7 separate regions of the Homo sapiens genome follow, and regions 2, 3, 4, 5, 6 and 7 are each linked to region 1. The links are contacts of gene promoters, found by promoter capture Hi-C in blood cells and fetal thymus (Javierre and others, 2016). All regions are on one chromosome and are shown on one strand. The core of a region is centred on a gene start or on the middle of the fragment in contact, and the rest is flanking DNA. Distances in the headings are between cores, read along the strand shown.

Region 1 (2,870 bases), core at 111-2,610:
AAGTCATTTAAAAAATGTAGACGCTAAATTCTCTTTCAAGGTTGCCAAGCTTCACCAGTGTCTGTATTAAAATTATTTCTAAAATTTTACGGACTAAGGCATTTGGTACATTCAATTCTACCTTTACCAACAAAAGCCTTTACCACCAAGATGAGGAAAGCATCCTTTTCATTTTCTACACTGAAAAGGGGGGGGAAAAAAGGCCAACTGCTTGCATACAGGTCTGCATATAACACAGCAGTCTCTGGCAAAGCCAATAACTCACGTTCAACTTCAGAAATCCTGGTGGCCGGTAACACAGAGTAACCTGTGCGCACAACCCTTGGGCTTGACATACCACTTCATCCGCCCTCCCTTCCCATCAATCCACCCCCAAAACCCCAACCCACCAAGCACACGGCTAAATATGTCTTCCCCAAGAGAGCCAAAAACCTTGAAAACGCCGAGAAAGGGCTCCCCTTTGAAGGAAAGGGCCTGCCCTTCCCTGTCTGGGGCCCCGGCTGGCTCGAAGAGCCTGGCTCCTAGGAGGCCCAAATCTCGACGCCTCGCACGTCCCGCCCCGCCCCGGGCCCGCTCGCGTCCCCTCGGGCGACAAAACCCTCCCGCCGTCGCTCAGCCAGGACTGACAGTTACGGCTGCAGCAGCCGCGGCCACCAGGGGCCTACTTCTGGCACCAGCCCCTTCGGACCACGCGCCCCCAAACACTCGCCTCGGCGGCGGGGGGCGGGGAAGGGGGGTGTCGACCTCGCCACAGCGGGCCCCGAAGGCCGGCCGAGTGACGGAGGGGAGCCAGCGCCGCCTGGCGCAGGCCGCGGCAACACTGACCTGTCGTCGCCCCCGCGCCTGGGCTGCGGCGGCCGCCTCACTGGTCGTAGTCGCCCTCGCCCGCCGCCTCCGCCCGCCACCGCCTCGTTCTCTTTCGCTGCCGCCACCGCCGGGGCTCATGCGGGACCCGCGCTTCCTTATCCGGAAAACGAGGCCGGGAAAGGGAGCGCCGGGGCCGCCGAAATCCCGGCGTTCGTCGCCAGCCGCCGCTGCCTGTCCACACCGGGGGGCTGAGGGGCCCTCCTGCCAGGGGCTACAGGCCGCGAGCTATTCCGAGGAGGAGCCGAAGGAGGCGCCGCCGCCCGCAGCCGAGCGCGCCGGGTCGGCAGAGGTGAAGCGTAAGTAGGCGGCGGATGGCGGGCGCCCGCGCTGGCGGATGGCTACGCGGCGGAGGGGTGCGCGAGCGAGCGAAGCCTGGTGTGTCGGGTCCTGGCGAAGGGAAAAGGCCCCGTCGTCTCCTGTAGTCACCCCGAGCCCAGCGCCACCATCTTGGGAGACACACGGATCTCGCGGCCGCGGCGCAAGACGGGAGGACTGGCTGGGCGGGCCGAGTATCCCGGCAGGCAGCGCGCGCCGCCCGGCCGGGCGAGGGCTCCAGGCCGGGACGCGGGGACGTGGGGCGGGGCCAAGACGCGCGGGAGGGCGCCGCGCTCCGCCCCTCCTTCCTTCGCCGGCCCCGCCTCCCTCCCGCTTGCCGTCGCCGCCGGCGCACGGGCCATTGGGAAGAGGAGGTGGCCTGCGGCCCCTCGGAGTCCCACCAGGCTCGGTCGCCATCTTGCGACTGGACAGAAAGGGTAATCCCTCTTTTTAGTTTCTGCTGTCTGTGACCCGAAAGAATAAACCTGGGACTTCCGGAAGCCCTCTGGGCACCCCCCCCCCCAGGAGGGTTGCAGAGCCCCTTGGTGTACCCAGCAGAGGAACGCCTCAGACTTTGTTGGGAAACGAATGGCTCTGAAAGTTAGCTGAAGCCGCTGGAATAGCCCCCCAGCCCCGAGGCGGGGCAGGTGCCTGCCGTTATTGGCTTTTCGACCCCAACCCTTTTCTATCTGGAGCTGCCTTTGTAGATGTTGCAGGGGTGCCCCGAGAGTGCAGGCCAGATTTTAGAGGACCAAGGTCATCTACTTAGGCCTCTTGCCAACACAGGATGTGTCAACTAGTTTACCAGAGACGAAGGTAAAGTCCCGTCTCCTGCAGTTGTTGACGTTCAGTAGGTCGTCGGTTAAGAAAAGTGGCTCCCTGGTTGACCCCAGCTGGATAGAGGCTAATTTTGATCCATATGACAGCTGAACGTAGTTAAAGCCATTAAAATTAAATCCATTTAAAGTCATATTTGGTACCAGGGTCACCATTTTAAAAGGTGTGTGTGTGTATGTGTGTGTGTGTGTGTGTGTGTGTGTATAGCTTTACAACACTTGCTAGCAAAGCCAAAAGAGTATCACTAACAATTCATAGTGTTACAACTTGCAACTTTGTTGATAAGCCCTTGAAGTACTAGATGAGTACCCATGTCTAGTATTCAGATTTTTTATATCAACAGTCGTACATAGCAGTGTATCTTTTTTAAATTTATTTTTATTTTTAAACTTAGAAATGGTGTCTTGCTATGTTAGGCCCAGGCTGGTCTCGAGCTCCTGGCCTCAAGTGATCCTCCCACCTCGGCCTCCCAAAGTTTTGGGACTACAGGCATGAGCCACAGTGCTCGGCCAGCAGTGTAATTTTTAACTGTCAGTCTCGGAACATCTTTTTTGTATAGCCAAGTGTGTGGGTGTGTGTGTGTATCCGCCTCACAACTATAACCAACCATTGAAAAACCAACAATAAGCTAGAAGAATTTAAGTTATTCCAGGACAACTGATGATAATGATAGTATTAAGCCATATTCGATTTTAAGATGTTTTAACTCAGCTCTTTACTCACTTTTCATTTCCTCTCATTACACATCCACATTTGGAAACTATTTGCTGTTATATTTCATGGAAAGGACTAGTAAGAATTATAATCTTTAAAAAAATTTATCTTCGCAAGTTTTCAAAATAGGCAACAAA
Region 2 (2,870 bases), core at 203-2,702, 500 kb after region 1:
GAGTGTGGCAGAGCTAGGGGTGGGTATTTGTGATGCTTTCTGAAATGTGGTTGGTTTTTGGAAAAAATGCCAGTAAGGACCCAGGTGCAAGAGCCGTAGGGCATCCCAAAGTAGGGGGTCCCTCAGCTTCCATGGCAAAGCTGCCTCTGCTCCAGCCTTAGCCCTGCCCCCCCGCCGCCCCCCCCCCCCGACCCCAGTTTGGATACCTGAAGCCTACCCCAGGCGATTGAACACAAAGCATTTCACTAACTTTCACAGCCTGTAAGCTTCACCAGCTGAGCAGAAGCTGCGGTTGGGCTGGGTGCATGACCTGCAGCCCTGGAAGTGAGGGCTCAGAGAGTCCCCTCAGTCACAGCTGCATGAAGCCCAGATGCTTCTCATTATGTTTCTGTCCAAGCTGCCTGGCCAGGAGGTTTGACCCAGCCCTTGGTTTGTACTTCCTGCACGGTGGCATCCAAGCGTGTTTTTTAAAAAAACACATATGTAAAAATGGTTAACCATACTCAACCTCTTCTGTCTCTGAGGAACAAGCAGTTTCTGTTGCATGTTCTAGATACTTGCTACCCAAAACAAGGCCCACAGGCCAGTGTCCTTAGCATCACCTGGGAGCTGGTTAAGAAAGTGCAATCTCAGGCCTCACCCCAGGCGCTGAAACAGAACCTGCATTTTCACAAGGGCCTTGGGTGTTTCGTGTTCAAATAATAAAGACTGACACCCCGGGACAGAAACAGTGGGGTGGGGCGGAAGGAGGGACAGGGGCAGTGGGGGTTAGATGGGGTGGGGGTGGGGGCTGTGCACCATTCTAAGTGCTTCCCAGGACTAATATATTTACTTCTCACTGCAGCTTGAAGCAATGTTATCTTGCCCTCAGTACAAAGTGAGCCCCAGGAAGTAGAGGCTCACCGCGGGTTTGGGCTAGGATAGGGTGCACCCACCATGTGGCCCAGGCCCTCACACCCACCTGGCTCCAGAGCATGGGGCCCGCTCCCCATTCTCCAGGCCTGGACCCTCTGTGCACCAACACCCGACTCATGAAAGAGCCAATAGGCTTCAACATACTATCTGTGGGACGTGTTTACTAAGCTGTGAAATTCCAGACACATATTCTCATGACTATTCTAATCCCTCCCATTACATGCAGTATGTGATGCGGAGGATGACGATGATATTTACTCCAAGATCATGGTTTTCTAGCATTCCTGGAAGCAGGACTGTGTCATTTTGCCAATACTCTACTCTTAGAAATACTGTAAGTTTTCACGTGATTTGGGTACAATTTGTCACTCTGTCACCCAGGCTGGAGTGCCGAGGCACAATCACAGCTCACTGCAGCCTTGACTTCCTGGCAATCCTCCCACCTCAGCCCCCTGAGTAGCTGGGATCACAGGCACACACTACCAAGCCTGGCTAACTAAAAAAAAAAATTGTAGAGACAGGTTTTTACTATGTTGCCCAGGCTGATAAACTCCTGAGCTCAAGCAATCCTCCCACCTCAGCCTCCCAGAGTTTTAGTATTACAAGCATGAGCCACCACACCCCGCTTGGCATAATTTCTTGCCTTTCTGGTAGAGAAGAGATTTCTCCCAGCCCCAGAGGTACCCACTCTTCTTTCCCAAAATTTTCAGAATGGACAGCACAAGCCTAGTGGCTCGATCCTGGCTGACTCCTGGCTTTCTTCTCTGCAGCGTGACATGGAAATACCAAGACCTTTCTTGATCATTGCTTCAGAAAGAGCTGGAAAAATTGCTTTACTCTCCTTAAACTCGAGTTCATTTACTTTTTCAAAGAGCGTTGGAAGGTATCATTCATTATGTTTGTGTCAGGGATGATTGGAGAAATTCATTTCCTCTGTTAAAGCCATTATATTTAGACTCCCTCCCTCAAGGTGATTCTCTGTTTTGGATATATATACGTATATAGACTTTTTCATTTCTGAAGCTATTAGTAACACGTGTTCAATTACTGGTGTAGAAAATGGATCTTAGACTGCTCTCAGTTCTTCAACCTGCATGTGTGGTCTATTTGTGATCCTAGAATCGATTTTGTTTCAAACAGCATTAAAGAAGAAACAAAAGGAATAGAGTAGAAACTATTGGAATGCACCATGCATTAGGTTTGCTAGGGCTGCTGTAACAAAGTCCCATAGACTGGAGGGCTTACACAACAGAAATGGATTGTCTCACTGTTCTGAAGCCTGTAGATTCAACATCAAGGTGCCTGCAGGGTTGGTTCCTTCCGAGGCCTTCTCCCTGGCTTGTAGACAGCAAGATGCCTTCCCCCTGTGTCCTCTGATGGTCATTCCCCTGCATCTGTCTGTCCTCATCTCCACTTCTTATAAAGACACCAGTCCTACCGGATTAAGGCCCACCCATATGAGTTCATTTCAACTTACCTCTATGAAGACCCCCCTCTCCAAATGAGGGAACATGCTGAGGTCCTGGGGGTCGGGGCTTCAACATATGAATTTTGCAGGAGGGACATAATTCGGCCTATAGCACATCATATCAGGTATTTTTTGTGAAACTTTAGCTTCAAGTGCGTGGTCTGTGTGTGTGTGTATGCATGCGCACATGTATTGGGTTACAATTTTAAGTATATTTCCTATGATGTAGGTGTTGGTCAAAAATATCTGAAAAACACAAGCTTGATTTGATGGTAGGGTGTCCTGTCAAGTGTGTTTCTCTTTGGGATGATGCAGAGATCGTGGGATCTGGAAGCCAGCTGGGAAGGCTAGGAATGAACTGTGAGATGAGCTCTTCTTGCACGTCTTGCCCCGCTTTATTTAATTATTGTTTGTTTTCTCTAGTTTTGGGTAATATCCAGGTTGTTGGCAGGTTTTGTGGAATTGTAGAATCAAGGTCCCATTTCCT
Region 3 (2,870 bases), core at 114-2,613, 470 kb before region 1:
TTTTCCTGCCTCAGCCTCCCAAGTATCTGGGATTATAGGCACCCACCACCACACCTGGCTAATTTTTGTATTTTTGGTAGAGACGGGGTTTCACCATGTTCTCCAGGCTGGTCTCAAACTCCTGAACTCAGGTGATCCACCTGCCTTGGCCTCTCAAAGTGCTGGGATTACAGGCGTGACCTACCGCGCCCGGCCCATTTTGAGTTTAAATCAAAGGAGACAGAAATTTTCTGAGAAATCCTCCTTTCTTGAATCCTTTATACACAACATTTTCTAGCAATTGCATAAGCAAATTGGAATCTAATCATTGTCCAAAGCTTTTCCCTTGAGTAAGGGAATTTTTCATTGAATAGGTGTGCACAACTGATTTTTTACTTTTTAGGAATTTTTTAGCTTCTCAGTTCAGTTCACAGATTTTTGTAAATTTTTAAATACAACATTTAAGTCATACATTATAGTCTGCAAGTAGGACCATCTAATTTTATGATACTTAATTATATCTTATTCTAGTCTCAACTGCTAGTTCTACCTAAATAGTACCCATTACTAGTATTCCTGTAGAAGAAGGGTTGGTAATATATCTGGACCACTACCTGTGTCTATAAATGAAATTTTATTGGAACACAACTCAGTTCATTTATTATGTTATCTTTGGCCACATTGGTGCTACGGTGGTGCAGCTTTGAGTAGTTGTGACAGATTGAATGACAGGCAAAGCCTAAAATACTTAGTATCTTGCTATTTAAAAGAAAATAATTGGCTGAGTTTTATTTTAGAGGAGCAGATTGAAAGAAGAAAACACCAAAGTGGGGGCCAGTCAATATAGTCATAATGTCATAGAAGGTGATAAAGAATAGATTATAGAAGTATATACGAAGTATACATTACAGCGTAGACAATCAGATGAATTTCTTGGGGAAGGGATCAGTCTAAGAGTCATGTTAAAGTCTGCTGTGGAGGAAGATGGGTAGTCTTTAACAACATTTAAACACTTCGTACCCGTTTTCATTAAAAATGTAAGGCACACGATGGCCAGGAAAAATAAGAAAATAAACTATTAATGTGGCCGGGTGTGGTGGCTCACGCCTGTCATCCTAGCACTTGGGGAGGCTGAGGCAGGTGGATCACCTGAGGTCAGAAGTTCGAGACCAACCTGGCCACATGGCGAAACCCCATCTGTTCTAAAAATACAAATATTAGCCGGGTGTAGTGGGGGACACCTGTAATCCCAGCTACTCGGGAGGCTGAGGCAGGAGAATTTCTTGAACCCTAGGGGCAGAGGTTGCATTGAGCAGAGATTGTGCCACTGCGCTTCAGCCTGCGTGACAGAGCAAGACTTCTATCTCAAAAAAAAATTGTGTTATGAATATTCTGTTTTTCTTTGGTACCTAAATATTTACCAGGGTACATATCCAACTGGATACCTACCTAGTAGTTGGGATGCAGGGTGTAATATTAGTATGACTTTTAAACGTTTTTGTTACATTGTTTTCTAAACACATCATGAGAAGTGCTGATGGCCACTAAAAATTAGTAGACCATTAGTTTCTCAGTACCACCCTTTGTATTCTGGTGTTTTTTTGTTTTTGTTAAATAAACCTTTCCAATAAAGGAAATTTGTTTTCTTGTGTTTTTAATTGGAATTATTGTGTATTAATATTTTGCATTTAGTTTTCTTTTGTCACTTGTTTTTGCATACTCTTCGATGGAGGATCTCTATGGAGACCCTCTATAATTTTAAATTTTAACAGATCAATACTGATATTCCATGGTGTGTCTCATTTGCTATGTGTGCCTTGGCCAACCCTAGTCATCTTATTTTACTATTTGCTATGTGTGCTTTGGCCAACCCTAGTCATCTTATTTTACTTTTGAATTAAAGTAGATTTACATTTTTATGTAGTTTAATCATTTGAAAGTCTACAGTTTCCTAAAGTTTGAAAACTTGTGCTTCTGTGAGGGATACCAGTTCGTTAATTTGCTTATGTGCCCTTTGATCTCAGAAGATACACTATGACTGCTCATCCATCCTTGCAGTGTGATGTTGCTACTCTCGTCGCCTTTCTCATGAAGTTTTGTTTTCTTGTGCTGTAAAGATAAATTTGACCACTCTGCAGTGATTTATTTTCTTCTTTCACTTACAAGGTCATGACTACATTGTATCACATTTAGGGATGAGAGAGAACTGTTTCTAAATTCCAAATCTGTCTCTTAAGGGAATCCTTTTAACTGCTGTAGGAGGTCAACTCCTATTGTGAGTAAAACATATATCTCTTCTAGCTATACAGGTTATTATTATATTATGATATATATATAAATATAAAATAATAATCTGTCCCTAATTCTCTAGGTCTTCAGTTCTTTGGGCCATAACTCACATCCCTAGATGTGTTTCATACCTCTGGACCGCTAAGCTTGTGGGAGTTATTTATATCCTATTGCTCAAGGTCATTGCCAAGGTCTGATTTTTCACAAAAAAATTCCAACCTCTGGCATAAATGGGTTAAAAACGGCTTTAGTGATGTAGTGCTGATAAACATAAAATTCACCCAATTTAAGTGCATGAAGCAATGATTTAAGTAAATTTACAGAACTGTGCAATCATTGCCATGAACTACTCTGGAAACATTTTCATCACCACAGTAAGATCTGTCTTGCTCATTCACAGTCATGATCCTTGTTGTCTCTTTGGATGGCTGAAGGTCCCAAGTGTTGCAGTGCTATAAAAATGGATATTGCTGGCTGGGCGCAGTGGCTCATGCCTGTAATCCTAGCACTTGGGGAGGCTGAGGCCGGCAGGTCACCTGAAGTCAGGAGTTCGAGACTAGCCTGGCCAACGTAGCGAAATTCCTTCTCTGCTAAAAATACAA
Region 4 (2,870 bases), core at 157-2,656, 450 kb before region 1:
AAACTCAAGTTGACAAGCCAACCCTGCAGGAATATATGGATAGAAGGGGAAGGATAACATGTTGAATTCAGCTACATGCCTCATCAGCTAGAAAACCTTGGAAGAAAGAAAGATAGATTGATACTTGCCTGAACTTCATCAACCAATAATATTTTTTTTCTTGCTATGGAGAGTCCACTCGCCTTTGGAAGATTTACCAGTAAAAGCCCTGCACATGATATACTTGTGTGCACATGCAATAAGGACATCATTCCCCAACTCCTGCTAGCATTGTGAAAGAGCTCCAAATATTCAAATAATATAAACTTTTTTTCGTGGACATTTAGCTTACGAGTTTGTTTAAATATGTGGGAAAATTATGTTTAGATAATAGTATTGAAATGAGAATGTAAGATACACATTGAATGATAAATGTGTATGAATTGTTCATTGTGCCTTAGGTAAGCCAGACAGTGAAATTAAATGTGTAATAGTTGTATTTTTTTGCATAATCTTGGAATGTAATTAGTTAAAAGCAAACACTTAGATTTTGAACATGAATCTGTTAAGCTTGTTAATGTAGTTGCTGTGGCTAAATAACTGGTTTCCTGGGGAAGCTTCTATTTGCTAGAATTTTATTCTGGAACAGTTGTTAGAAAGGAATTCTCAGGTCACCTTTTAAAGATATACACAATTCTGTATTCACTTTTTGAGTGCATAAGGGTAATAGAAAATGACATGGGAAGCGTTAATTAGAAAAAAAGGCATTTTGTTTATGTGCATTTGAGGATACAGTGTTTGAAGTTTCTAAATAATTGTTTTATGACATTTTCTTGGTACATAGATATTGCTAACAATTAGTTTGCTGAAGTATGTAGAAACATTTTAAGAAATGATTTTAGAAATATAATTGTTAAAGTACCTCTGATGTATATTAAAAATCCTTTTATTTTGGTTTATATTGCTATGGATGTTTTTCTGGGGGAACTTAATGTATACAACTTCTAACTAAGAAGTTTTATTAATGCTGCTTTATGTATGAAAGTCATGGATGTGGATGTTATTTTGTCAGTGGTCTTTCTGTTAAAATTTACGTGGTGTAAGATTTTCTTTTCATGATGGAATTGCCAAAAAGGCCAGCCTCTAGAACACTTACATGTTAAGGGTTGGGTGGGATTTGTATTACTTTGTGTATATAACCGACAGGATTGTGTTACTGAATCTTAACCAGCATAGAGATGGCTGACATTTTGCATTTTGGGGGACATTAAATTGTTACACAATGATGTCATTGGTTACTGATAGGAGTGTTTAGACTCTTAGATGGCTTTGTTAGTATTAGGCAAATATTAGATGTGGATTTAGGAGATAAGAGGGTGGGGTGTTGGAGCCCTGTGTGCACATGAGCATATGTTGCAGGGCCTCCAGACCTAAATCCACGTGAAGATGGTGGTGGTGGTCTTACCTATATGTTAACATTACATTGTAAACAGGTAGACTACTTTCCTTTTGCTAGTGGGAGTGTTAAATCACCTCTCAGAACATTAATTCATTAAATTGCCCCTAAACATTAATTGATTGCTGGTGGATATGCTAAATATTTTTAACATCTATTTTTCTAAATGTATAGATGTCATTTTTAATTCATAGGGGATAGAACCAGTTTTGCTTGCAAAAAGCAAACTGTTCACTGGATCATTGGGCTTAATTTTTAGGTTGTGGTAGATATAATAGAAATGTTCTTACAATTTGTAGTATAATACTGTATATCTCTATAAATATATATGTGACTGTTTTTCTGATAGATGCAACATGGTGGAAATGTCATCATAAATGTCGGTCTGCCTTTGTTTATAGTTTTCAGATGTGTATATGCAGTTTTTTATACAACAGAAAAATTGCCACATGAGTCAAATAGCATAGGTTAGAAAAGTTCTCATTTGCCAAAAATATGTGACTTTCATAATAGTGAGTTGTTTTTGATTTAAAATGTTTCTATCTGTAGAGGCATTTTATAAGTTTTTATGGGGATACTAGCAATGGGATGTGAAACCTGAGTTCATTAGATCATTGGGTGATAATGGAACCCTTATGTGTATACAATATACATGGTTATATGTTTTTTAAAGCATAGGAGCTATTATGTCTGCATGGTTCTAAATATATATACACACACGTAAACACATATCTATATATCTATCTATATAGATAGATAGATAAATACATACATATGTAGTGAAAGCTTTTGTTTCCTCCCTCACATAGGCAGATTATTTGTGTGTGTAAATGAGCAGCTGAAGGGGAATTTTGTTACATGTGTATAAGACAGTCACAATATATAATTGTTTTGCTTTAATTGTTTAGTCTTTGATTTGTAGGAATTGCCAACACGTATATTTGTGTGTATGCAGGTTTATATATAAATACATATCACTGTATAAACAACATTTATTGTCATAGGATAGAAATATTCTTAAGTTGCCAGAGATACTGTATGGCTGCTAAATGTATAGTAGAAAAATGTTACCTTTTGCTTTTTAGCATCTGCATACAGATTACTAATAGGCGTATATTGTGACCAGTAAACCACTAGACAAGGGCATAAACACTTTAGTTTGATCAGTAGAATTGCTATGCCATGTTTAAATGGGATTTATTTGGTTGATGCAGAATATATAATTGTATCTAGAAGATAAATATTACAAAAATATTTTAATATACAATTTCTGTCATATTTTTGGAAATATATTTTTATTCAAAAGTAGAATCATTGTTGCCAATAGAGTTAGCATCTTTGTGTGCTTGTGAGGTTTGATTTTGAGGGTTTTCTTGGTTTTGTTTTGGGTTCTGGAGTTCTAAAAAATGAGATTGTCTTTGTCTAAACAATTTTT
Region 5 (2,870 bases), core at 170-2,669, 420 kb before region 1:
GTGACTGTTAAGGATGCTGCGTGCTCATGGCAGTAACTCATGGGCAGATGTCACAAAGACAGTAATACCTCTTATTGCTTTTATGACAGCATAAGGTTTTATTTTTCACTGTGGCTTTGTTAGAGTTATGGAAAGTCATCCATTGCCTCTTAAATACGTAATGGTAAATTGGGTAAAGGAATTGGGTAAATCACATGGTTTTCCAAAACTTCAGGAGATTTAGAAGCTGTATTTTATGTTTTCTCAAGGAAAGGATGAAAAGGACACGTTAAACACTGATAGTGTCTACTGTAGGATACCTTTCTGGTCTCACAAACTAGGTATACTTTCTACTTAAATGGAAACTATCCCCTTCACAGTGGGAACCAATAAAAACCTCACCCAGGTAAAAATCCAGCGTCTCAGTGATGCTATCTCCCTATCATGAGGTAATTCACAGTAATCTGTACCTTAAGTCTCAGTGTACCTACTGTTGGCCCAGAGATAGGTGAAACTTAAAGATAATTGTACCTTGGCTGCATGTAGTGGCTCATGCCTATAATCCCAGCACTTTGGGAAGCTGAGGCGGGCAGATCACACCGTCAGGAGTTAAAGACCAGCCTGGCTAACATGGTGAAACCCTGTCTCTACTAAAAATACACCACACCCTGGTGTGGTGGTGTGTGCCTGTAATACCAGCTACTCAGAACGCTGAGGCAGGAGAATCGCTTGAACCCGGGAGGCAGAGGTTGCAGTGAGCTGAGATCGTGCCATTGCACTCCAGTCTGGGCAATAGGGTGAGACTCCATCTCAAAAAAATAATAATTGAACCTTATTTCCTTTTGTACAATGTACAATGAGCAGAGTCAGGGCAACTATAATACAACTCCAAACTCTAAGGTGTCAAATGTGATAGAAATCACTTTTCCATTGAAATTTTGAAATCCCTCTGGAAATACACTGTGAAGGCTCCCTATACTGTGCTAGAGAGTGTTTTACTAGGGCCTGGAAGATGCTCACTTTTTCCTTGTTTTCCTTGGCTGTAGCTTTTACCTCTGGCACACTTTCCCAATCCCCTTATCCTACTTAATTATTTTTAAAATAGGCATTGTGGAGGATGTTTGTTCATATTTTAAGTCTTAATCATGGGCTTCTAGTTTCTTTGGAAGTAAAAGTGACCCATTAAAAATGTAAAATGTGTTATGTGCATCATGGGCACAGGAGTTTCGTGGCCTATATGTGATTCTAACTTATATCTTACCATGGTGATCGTAGAACCATGTGTTGATATGTAATTTTCAAAAGAGGTGAATGCCCTTGGCACAGTAATCTGTCATATTTAGCAAAGCTTCCCTGAGAGCCATCATAACAGACCCACAGGAATATTTTCATTAGTAAGAAGTAGATGTGTTCAGCCAGTAAAATTTTGAAGTGGCCATGACTTCAATCTGAGTACAGAGGGAAAGTTACACACAATAATTCAGTGATTGGTGGATAGGTGCGTTCAAGGAGGCAGGGTTGGATTGGTGTTTTCAAGCTTGGTAGTAGTAGTAGACAGGCAGACATGTGAGTTGATGGAAGGATGCAAGAATGGTTACTGAAATTTTCTTTGTATTATATGGTTAATGTGGATTTAATAACTAGTCATTGAAATTATGTGGGATTGGATATTTAAAGCCCAGAAAGATGAATATAATAATCGTCTAATATAATTTGAAATATAATAACGGATGCATGCAAAATTGGGTGTATTGAATAATGTAAGAAATAGATGGAAAGTAGAATATGAGCAAATGGCTGGATGCAAGAATGGAGAATGCAGGTTTTAAAAACCTGTTGGGTGTATGTATGGTTATATGCACAGTGGAATCATTTAGTGAAGGTGCAGATGGTTATATGCCTAGGTGTTATCATTGGATGGATCAAAAATGGAATGCTGTATGGATAGATCTTTAGATTGATGAGTACAAATATGGCTATCTAAAACCTTGGATAAATGTAGGGATCAGGGTTCAGGTACATTGGTTGCATAAGTGATAGCTGCCTGTTTGGTGGCTTTAGAGTGGCTTAATAGACTGATAGATGGGTTGATTCACAAGGTGATGGTACAGGAATTTGATGACTATGAGAATGGGCTGATGCAATAATAAAGTCATATATGTAAAGTTGACTGGAAAGATGGACATTTGAAAGCCAATGGTATATTTTCACGGGCAGATTCATTATGAAATTATAAAAGTTTTGTTTTTGCATTCTCAACATGATGTGTTAGCAAATAAGCAAAAACTAACTGCAGTGGGTTCACAAGTTAGTTTAATTAAAATGATCTTTCAATATTTTAATAATTTGGGGACTTTAGGAGGTTGAGGAATGAGAGAACTTCACCTTCTGTATATTAACTGGTCGTATGTCACAATTTTCCCATATTTTTCACAGTTATAGCTGAGGTGGTACCAGTTTAAGAAGTGAGAACTTCTTCACTGACTGAAATTTGCATATCAATCCAAATCATTGTGCTTATTTACTATTTTTGTAGACGTCATTCTTCAAAAGTGCTGGTAAGAATCAGTAACCCTGGTGTACTGTTTATTTTTGACCAGTTTGATATTGAATCTAATTTGTAATATTTTAAAATCCAAAACTATACATGAATTCTATAAAACACAAAGTTGTGAATTTGTGGAGTGATTATCAGTTAGGTGAAATAAAAGAGATAAAAGGGCTCCCTAAATTTTGACACAGTTTTGATATGTAGTTTATGCAGGTTTTGATTTACCAGTCTTATCTACTCTCACCGTAGTATGTAATGTCATCTGGACTGAGACTATAACTTTTTATCTGTATACTCAGTAAATTTTATATTATTTCAGTAAATTTTATTGAATAAATGC
Region 6 (2,870 bases), core at 179-2,678, 420 kb after region 1:
TGGACAGGTCCGCCGGAGACTCTAAAACTCAGGGAGGGAAAAAGAGCAGGAGTGGTCCATCGCAGGGTCACCCCTGGTACTGCCCGTGGCAGGGCTCACAAACACCCCACAGCCTCTTTCCCCCAGGAAGCAGGTTAAGATGAAGAAAATTAGGCAGGCAGCTACCGGGCGGTGCCTGGCTCGCGGCTCATGGCTCACAGTGGAGGATGGACACTGCTGTTATTTCCCCTGCCCTGGTACCTGGGCCGTGCCAGACATATCAGCACTTGGCGGCAGTTTCACTTTGCTGCTGTCCTGAGCCGAGCTGTTAGCAGACTGAGCTTTACTGTCCTGTGCCGGCTGTTCAGAGACCACTGTGCCTGGCCGAAGACTGAGGCAGGGACTTCAGGCCAGGGGGCCAGGCTGGCTTTTCCTGCCTTTCACTTCAGGTGGGAGCGGCTGTGGATGAGGATGTCCAGCGGCCGTCGGTTTCTAGCCTTGGGATCATTCTGGCCCCGACACGGAGTGACAGGGGATCCCCACGCGTCCCCGCATCCAGGGCGCCCCTTTAGCTGCGGCGGAGGCACAGAGAGGCCTTGGCGGCGCTGTGGCTTCGGTCGGCACCGGGTCCCGCGCAGCCGGGCCCTCCACCCTGAGTGGAGCTGCCTTCTAAGCACCCAGCCCCTGCCAATCACTGTGCCCAACACCAAGTTCCCGGGGCGCCCTGCCCTGCGCCACCGCGCGCTCGCTCGCCCGCCCGCCCAACTCACCTGCTGAAGACCAGGCAGCCCAGGTGGTTGATCTTGTGGTCGGAGCGGTGGCGGCTGTAGTCCTCCCACAGGTCCCTGAAGGCCGTGATGGCCAGGATGAAGAGCACCGGCGCCAGTGCCAGGCCGGGCTGGAAGGCGTTCACCGCCGGCACGAAGTTGAGCAGCGCGATGAAGACAAAGTACACGTTGGCCGGGCGGTGGAACTGCTCGAACAGGTTCTTGGGCAGGAAGGACAGCAGCGTGTACTTGGTAGTCTTGAGCCGGTTGTCGGCCAGGTGCTGGGCACACCCGCGCCGCCGTCGCCGCTCGCCCTTGGCCGCGCCAGCCGCAGGGTCCTCGGCGCCCGGGGGCGGCAGCAGGTTGGAGCGCACCGTGCGCGTCCTGCCCTCTCGGCGCCTCCGCCGTCCCGGAGGCCCGGGCTCCTCGGTCCCCGCCGGCTCCCGCTCCATGGCCGCGTGTCGCCGCGCCCGGCTCCTCCGCCGCTCACGCCCGCCCGCGCCGGCCTCTTAGGTTATCATCACTCGCGGCCCGGGCGCGGCGGTGCGAGCTCCCCGCCTGCGGGACGCACGGAGACCGCGGTCAGCGCGCCGCCTGGCCGGCCCAGCGCGCCCAGCCCGCGCCCAGCCCCGTCCACTCCCGTCCAGCCCCGCCGCCCGGCCGCAGTCCCCAGGGCGCAAGCTGGGCGGGTGCCGCACAGAGCCCCCTTGTCCTCGCCGCCCGCCCCCGGCCCGGGTCGTTTCCGCCGCGGTGGCCACGGCCCCGCCCTCGTTCCGCGCCCGGACTGGGCCACGCCGGATAGCGGGAAACAAAAAAAGCCCGAGCTGGAAACTTCAGAGAGGTTTAGTTTCGTTTCCCAGAAGCATCAGTTCGGTCCCAAAACGCTGCAAACGCGCGCTGCCTGCAGTAGGAGAGAGGAAACCGCGAAGCGCGAGAAAAGGCGCCCCCGTCCCCAAGCAGCCCGCGCGCCCTTCCAGGGGCCAGACCTGCTCCATCCTGGACGGCGAAACGACCTCGGGAGACCCCGGTTAGGACCTTACTCCAGGGATCAACTGGAATCAAAATCCAAAGGATCCATGGCATCCAGTGCTCCAATTTTTAAGTCTTTTTTACGCAGGACCTCTGCTCCTGGGGAGCCCTGGGAAGGGCGATTCCGCGTTGCCTCTAAGAACTTCTTTCCTACCCCACTTCCCAGCCCCCACCACTTTCAGATTCCGTTGTTGGGCGAACTAGACCGTTTCCTTTCCACCATCATCATTACTGCCTTTCCTTCCTCTCCTAAATAAATTCTTTTTCTTTTTTCTGTTCTTTCTTCATGGAAAGGAGAAATATATCGCTATAGCAAAGACAGAATTTGGTTTGCAGGTATTTGAGTGTCTGTTTCCCTCCCTGGGAAATCATGAGGACCGAAACGCTCCTTGTGCGCTGTAGCTCTGAGGTGGCTGTCATGGCCCGGACGGCGGGGGAGGCGAGGATGGTTGTGGGGAGGCGAGGATGGTTGTGGGGAGGAGAGGGGAGCGTCAGGAGGGTGTCCCAGAAGTGTGGGGCGAAGGGCTCCCCTCCACATCATGGGGCATCCGAGAAGGGGTGGGAGAATAAGCACGGCATGGAAAAAGGAGCTGGGAGTCCCCCACGTCCGCAGTGAGACCCCACAGATGTTTCATGGCTGTGACTGTTTGCCTCCCACTCAAGAAGTACAGAGATGAGAAGCAGTTATTTCTTGCCCAGGAGGCCGTGGCTGGGCGGTTGGCCGTGGCCCCAGGCTCTTCCTGGGGGTGCCTGCTAACAAGGCACTGCCCTGGATGGACTCAAATCACGTCTTCGCCAGGACCCTGGCTTGGGGAGGCCCTCCCCTCCAGCACCCTGGCTTACCCGGCTCCAGTTATGACATTCTTACATCTCTGCCCAGTTTTGCCACCATCCACAATGTTGCCCAGAACCCAGTGTTAGAAGGTAGAGTGGTGACAGGTGTGAAGAAAATAATCCCATCCCCCAGTCACAGGGGTGGGCTTTTGACATGTAGAGGCCCAGATCAGGGAAAGGTTTGGCTGAAGTCTGCATTGTTGGGGAAAGGAGTCAGGTCTCACAGTCAACCAGCAGAAACCCAAACGGAGCATCAACTGC
Region 7 (2,870 bases), core at 202-2,701, 400 kb after region 1:
TGTGTACTGGGCACACCAAATTTCCATGTCTTCTTCTTATGCTGACTCCTTACCATTAATAACTCAATGGTCATATTTTAAGCTTTTTATTTCGGAATAATTACAGATTCATAGGAAGTTGCAAAGAAATGTACAGGGAGGTCCCATGCACCCTTCACCCAGCCTCCCCTAAGGCCACCATGCCCCAAAACCAGAGGACAAAATCAAAACCGGGAAATTGGCATTGGTACAGCCGACAAAGCTTATTCAGATTTCTCTAGCTTTAAGTGCATTCGTGTGCGTGTGTGTGCGCATGTGCATCTGTGCAGTTTCTCAACCACAACCGAAATAGTACCCACACACAATCAAGATGGCGCCAATGGGACAAGACCCCTCATGCTACCTCTCTGGGGCCACGTTCACCCCCTCCTGCATCCCTAACCCCTGGCAAACACTAACTTGTCCCTCATCCCCCTAAGAATGTTATTTCACAAATGTTCTATAAATGGGATCACGCAGCATATATCCTTTTGAAATTAGGTTTTCCTAACTTTTATTTTAGGTTTGGGGGTTTGTTACACAGGTAACAAACCTATGCACATGTGAAGGTTTGTTACATTGGTAAACTCACGTTATAGGGGTTTGTGTACAGATTATTTCATCACCCAGGTATTAAGCCTAGTACCCAACAGTTATCTTTTCTGCTTCTCTTTCTCCTCTCACCCTCCACCCTCAGGTAGACTCCAGTGTCTGTTGTTCCCTTCTTTCTGTTCATAATTCTCATCATTTAGCTCCCAGGCTTTTTCCATTCACCAAAATCTCCCTGAGGCCCATGCAAGTTGCTGTGTTTATCAACAGTCTGTTCCTTTTTACTACTGACTAGTATTCCACCGTATGGAGGGATCACAGTTTCTTTAACCACTTACCTTTTGAGGAACATCTAGGTTATTTCCAGTGTTGGGTTATTATTTAAAAAAAAATGCTGCGATGAACATTTCTGCAAAGCTTCTCTGTGAATGTAAGTTCTCATTTATCTGGGGTAAATGCCCAGGAGTGCAACTGGTGGATTATATGACAATTCTATTTTTAGTTTTGTGAAGGGACTATTTTCCAGAGTGGGTATGTTTTACATTCCCACAGCAACGTAGGAGAGATCCCATTTCTCACACCCTCAGCAGCGTTTGGTGGTATCACTCTTTTTATTTGTGCCATTCTGATAGATGCGCAGTGGTATCTCTGAGTGGCTTTAATTTGCATTTCCCTGTTTTGTAAAGATGTTGAACATCTTTTCATGTGCTTACTTGCCATCTGCATACCTTCTTCAGTGAATGTCTCATGTCTTGCCCATTTTTAAACAGGATTCATTGTTTTGTTAATGTTCAATTTTGAGAGTTCTTTACGTATTCTAGATATTAGTGCTTTGTTGGGTATGTGATTTGCAAATATTCTCTCTCGTCTGGAATTTCTCTGCTCTTTTTCATTGGATCTTTCCCACAGCAAAGGATAATGCTTTTGGTGTCAAGTCTATGAATTCTTTGTCTAGTCTTAGATCCCAAAAATGTTTTATGTTTTCTTTTAGAAGTTTTATCGTTTTACATTTAAATCTATAATCTTTAACAAGTTAATTTTTATATGAGGTATGTGAGGTTTAGGGTTTTTTTTTTTTTCTAATGGATGTCTAATTGCTCCCACACCGTTTATTGGAAAACTATATACTTCCTCCACTGAACTGATTGTCAAAAACTAATTGGGCATATCTGTTGGGACTTATTTCTGGGTTCTTCACTCTGGTTCATTACATATGTGCCATCCCTTTGCTGATACCACACTTTGCAGCTCCACAGTAAGCATTAATATTGGGAGAAGTGAGTGCTTCCACTTTATTATTCTTTTTGAGAAATCTTGTGGACATTTTTGGACCTGTGTTTTTCCACGTAGAATAAGCTTGTGTATGTCTACAAAAAAAAAAAACATTGCTGAGGTTTTGATAGGAGTTACGTTAAATCTATAGATAATTATAGAGAAAACTGACTCACTATTATGTTCATTTTCCGATCCATGAACATGGGAAGTCTCTCCATTTATTCAGATGTTCCTTGATATTTTTCATCAGCATTTTGTAATGTTCATCCTGCATCCTGTATGAGCATTGTGAAACTTATATGTAAGTATTTTATTTTCTTGGTGCAACTGTAAATGGTATTATGTTTGTGATTTCAGTTTTCACTAGTCCATTGTGGGGATACAGAAATGCAGTCAATTCATAGCCACGGATCTTGTATCCTGTCATTGTAATGAGCTCATTTTTCAGTTGTAAGAGGTTTTGTTTTGGGTTTTGTAGAATCAGTCTTTCATCCTCAACTGTGAAATTGGTTGTAGGTTTTTTGTAAATGCTCTGTATAAAGGAGTGGAAGGCAGTTCCCTGGGCCACCTGTTGCTGTTGTGTGGGTGGATGGGCAAAAGCCCCTGGGTCTGGGTCTCCTGGAGCCACCGGATAGGGAGTGGTCCACACAGCAGCATCAGGCTGTCCACTGGTGGCTTGGGTGTGGAGCGGGCCTTGGGCTCCCACTAGGTCTCACTGAGCTTCCCCTTTGGCCTGACAGAGCCTTTTGGTTTTGCTTTATTTTGTTTTCTCTATACCTGTTGGCGGTTCTGGTTACAGGCCTTCCTGTGCCCACACTGGAAGGATACAGGAGATAAAACAGAAGTCCAGGGTCTCATGGTGTTGCTACCCCCTCATGTCCTGAGGCCCCAGTCAGTCTGCCTGCTTTTAGTTTCCAGCGTCCTTTTACTGTTTCTTGTTAAATTATTTACTTGTAATCACGGGGAGGAGCAGGGAAAAATGAATCTACGCCATCTTGTTCTAAAACCAGAAGCCCCTGTTTTTAAAG

What was found. Contacts are between HindIII fragments. The CHiCAGO score rates a contact against its expected background, and 5 or more counts as called.
Region 2: a fragment that was not itself captured here is called in contact with the fragment with the promoter of UBE3A in region 1 in 2 of 17 cell types (total B cells and naive B cells); the score reaches 9.2 in total B cells.
Region 3: a fragment that was not itself captured here is called in contact with the fragment with the promoter of UBE3A in region 1 in 8 of 17 cell types (activated CD4 T cells, total CD8 T cells, naive CD4 T cells and 5 more); the score reaches 9.0 in activated CD4 T cells.
Region 4: a contact is called between a fragment that was not itself captured here and the fragment with the promoter of UBE3A in region 1, in 6 of 17 cell types (activated CD4 T cells, total CD8 T cells, M2 macrophages and 3 more). The highest score is 7.3, in activated CD4 T cells.
Region 5: a fragment that was not itself captured here is called in contact with the fragment with the promoter of UBE3A in region 1 in 1 of 17 cell types (non-activated CD4 T cells); the score reaches 5.3 in non-activated CD4 T cells.
Region 6: the fragment with the promoter of ATP10A here is called in contact with the fragment with the promoter of UBE3A in region 1 in 1 of 17 cell types (naive CD4 T cells); the score reaches 6.9 in naive CD4 T cells.
Region 7: a fragment that was not itself captured here is called in contact with the fragment with the promoter of UBE3A in region 1 in 1 of 17 cell types (total CD4 T cells); the score reaches 5.0 in total CD4 T cells.

What each region holds. Positions count from the first base shown.
Region 1 is chr15:25,437,664-25,440,533 of GRCh38, forward strand. It overlaps UBE3A (ubiquitin protein ligase E3A), which reads right to left and starts at 1,361. Exons shown (of 13, transcript NM_130839.5): 1 at 826-1,361. RefSeq lists enhancers at 477-1,422, 1,423-2,368 and silencers at 506-925, 1,286-1,625. The HindIII fragment of the contact is 4,364 bases long and covers 48-2,870 here.
Region 2 is chr15:25,938,864-25,941,733 of GRCh38, forward strand. All of the region lies in intron 1 of LINC02346 (long intergenic non-protein coding RNA 2346), which reads left to right. Among named protein-coding and RNA genes, the nearest start is that of LINC02346, 38 kb to the left of the region's middle. The HindIII fragment of the contact is 2,377 bases long and covers 265-2,641 here.
Region 3 is chr15:24,969,234-24,972,103 of GRCh38, forward strand. All of the region lies in intron 3 of SNRPN (small nuclear ribonucleoprotein polypeptide N), which reads left to right. The region is part of intron 6 of SNHG14 (small nucleolar RNA host gene 14); the gene reads left to right. It also overlaps a transcript of SNURF not described here. Among named protein-coding and RNA genes, the nearest start is that of PWARSN, 11 kb to the right of the region's middle. The HindIII fragment of the contact is 2,097 bases long and covers 316-2,412 here.
Region 4 is chr15:24,990,816-24,993,685 of GRCh38, forward strand. The region is part of intron 15 of SNHG14 (small nucleolar RNA host gene 14); the gene reads left to right. Among named protein-coding and RNA genes, the nearest start is that of SNORD108, 5.3 kb to the left of the region's middle. The HindIII fragment of the contact is 1,625 bases long and covers 595-2,219 here.
Region 5 is chr15:25,016,612-25,019,481 of GRCh38, forward strand. SNHG14 (small nucleolar RNA host gene 14) reads left to right here. Exons shown (of 148, transcript NR_146177.1): 21 at 2,416-2,537. Among named protein-coding and RNA genes, the nearest start is that of PWAR6, 14 kb to the right of the region's middle. The HindIII fragment of the contact is 189 bases long and covers 1,326-1,514 here.
Region 6 is chr15:25,861,899-25,864,768 of GRCh38, forward strand. ATP10A (ATPase phospholipid transporting 10A (putative)) reads right to left here and starts at 1,429. Exons shown (of 21, transcript NM_024490.4): 1 at 750-1,429. The coding sequence starts at 1,198. The HindIII fragment of the contact is 7,208 bases long and covers 1-2,870 here.
Region 7 is chr15:25,839,647-25,842,516 of GRCh38, forward strand. The region is part of intron 1 of ATP10A (ATPase phospholipid transporting 10A (putative)); the gene reads right to left. Among named protein-coding and RNA genes, the nearest start is that of MIR4715, 7.7 kb to the right of the region's middle. The HindIII fragment of the contact is 939 bases long and covers 983-1,921 here.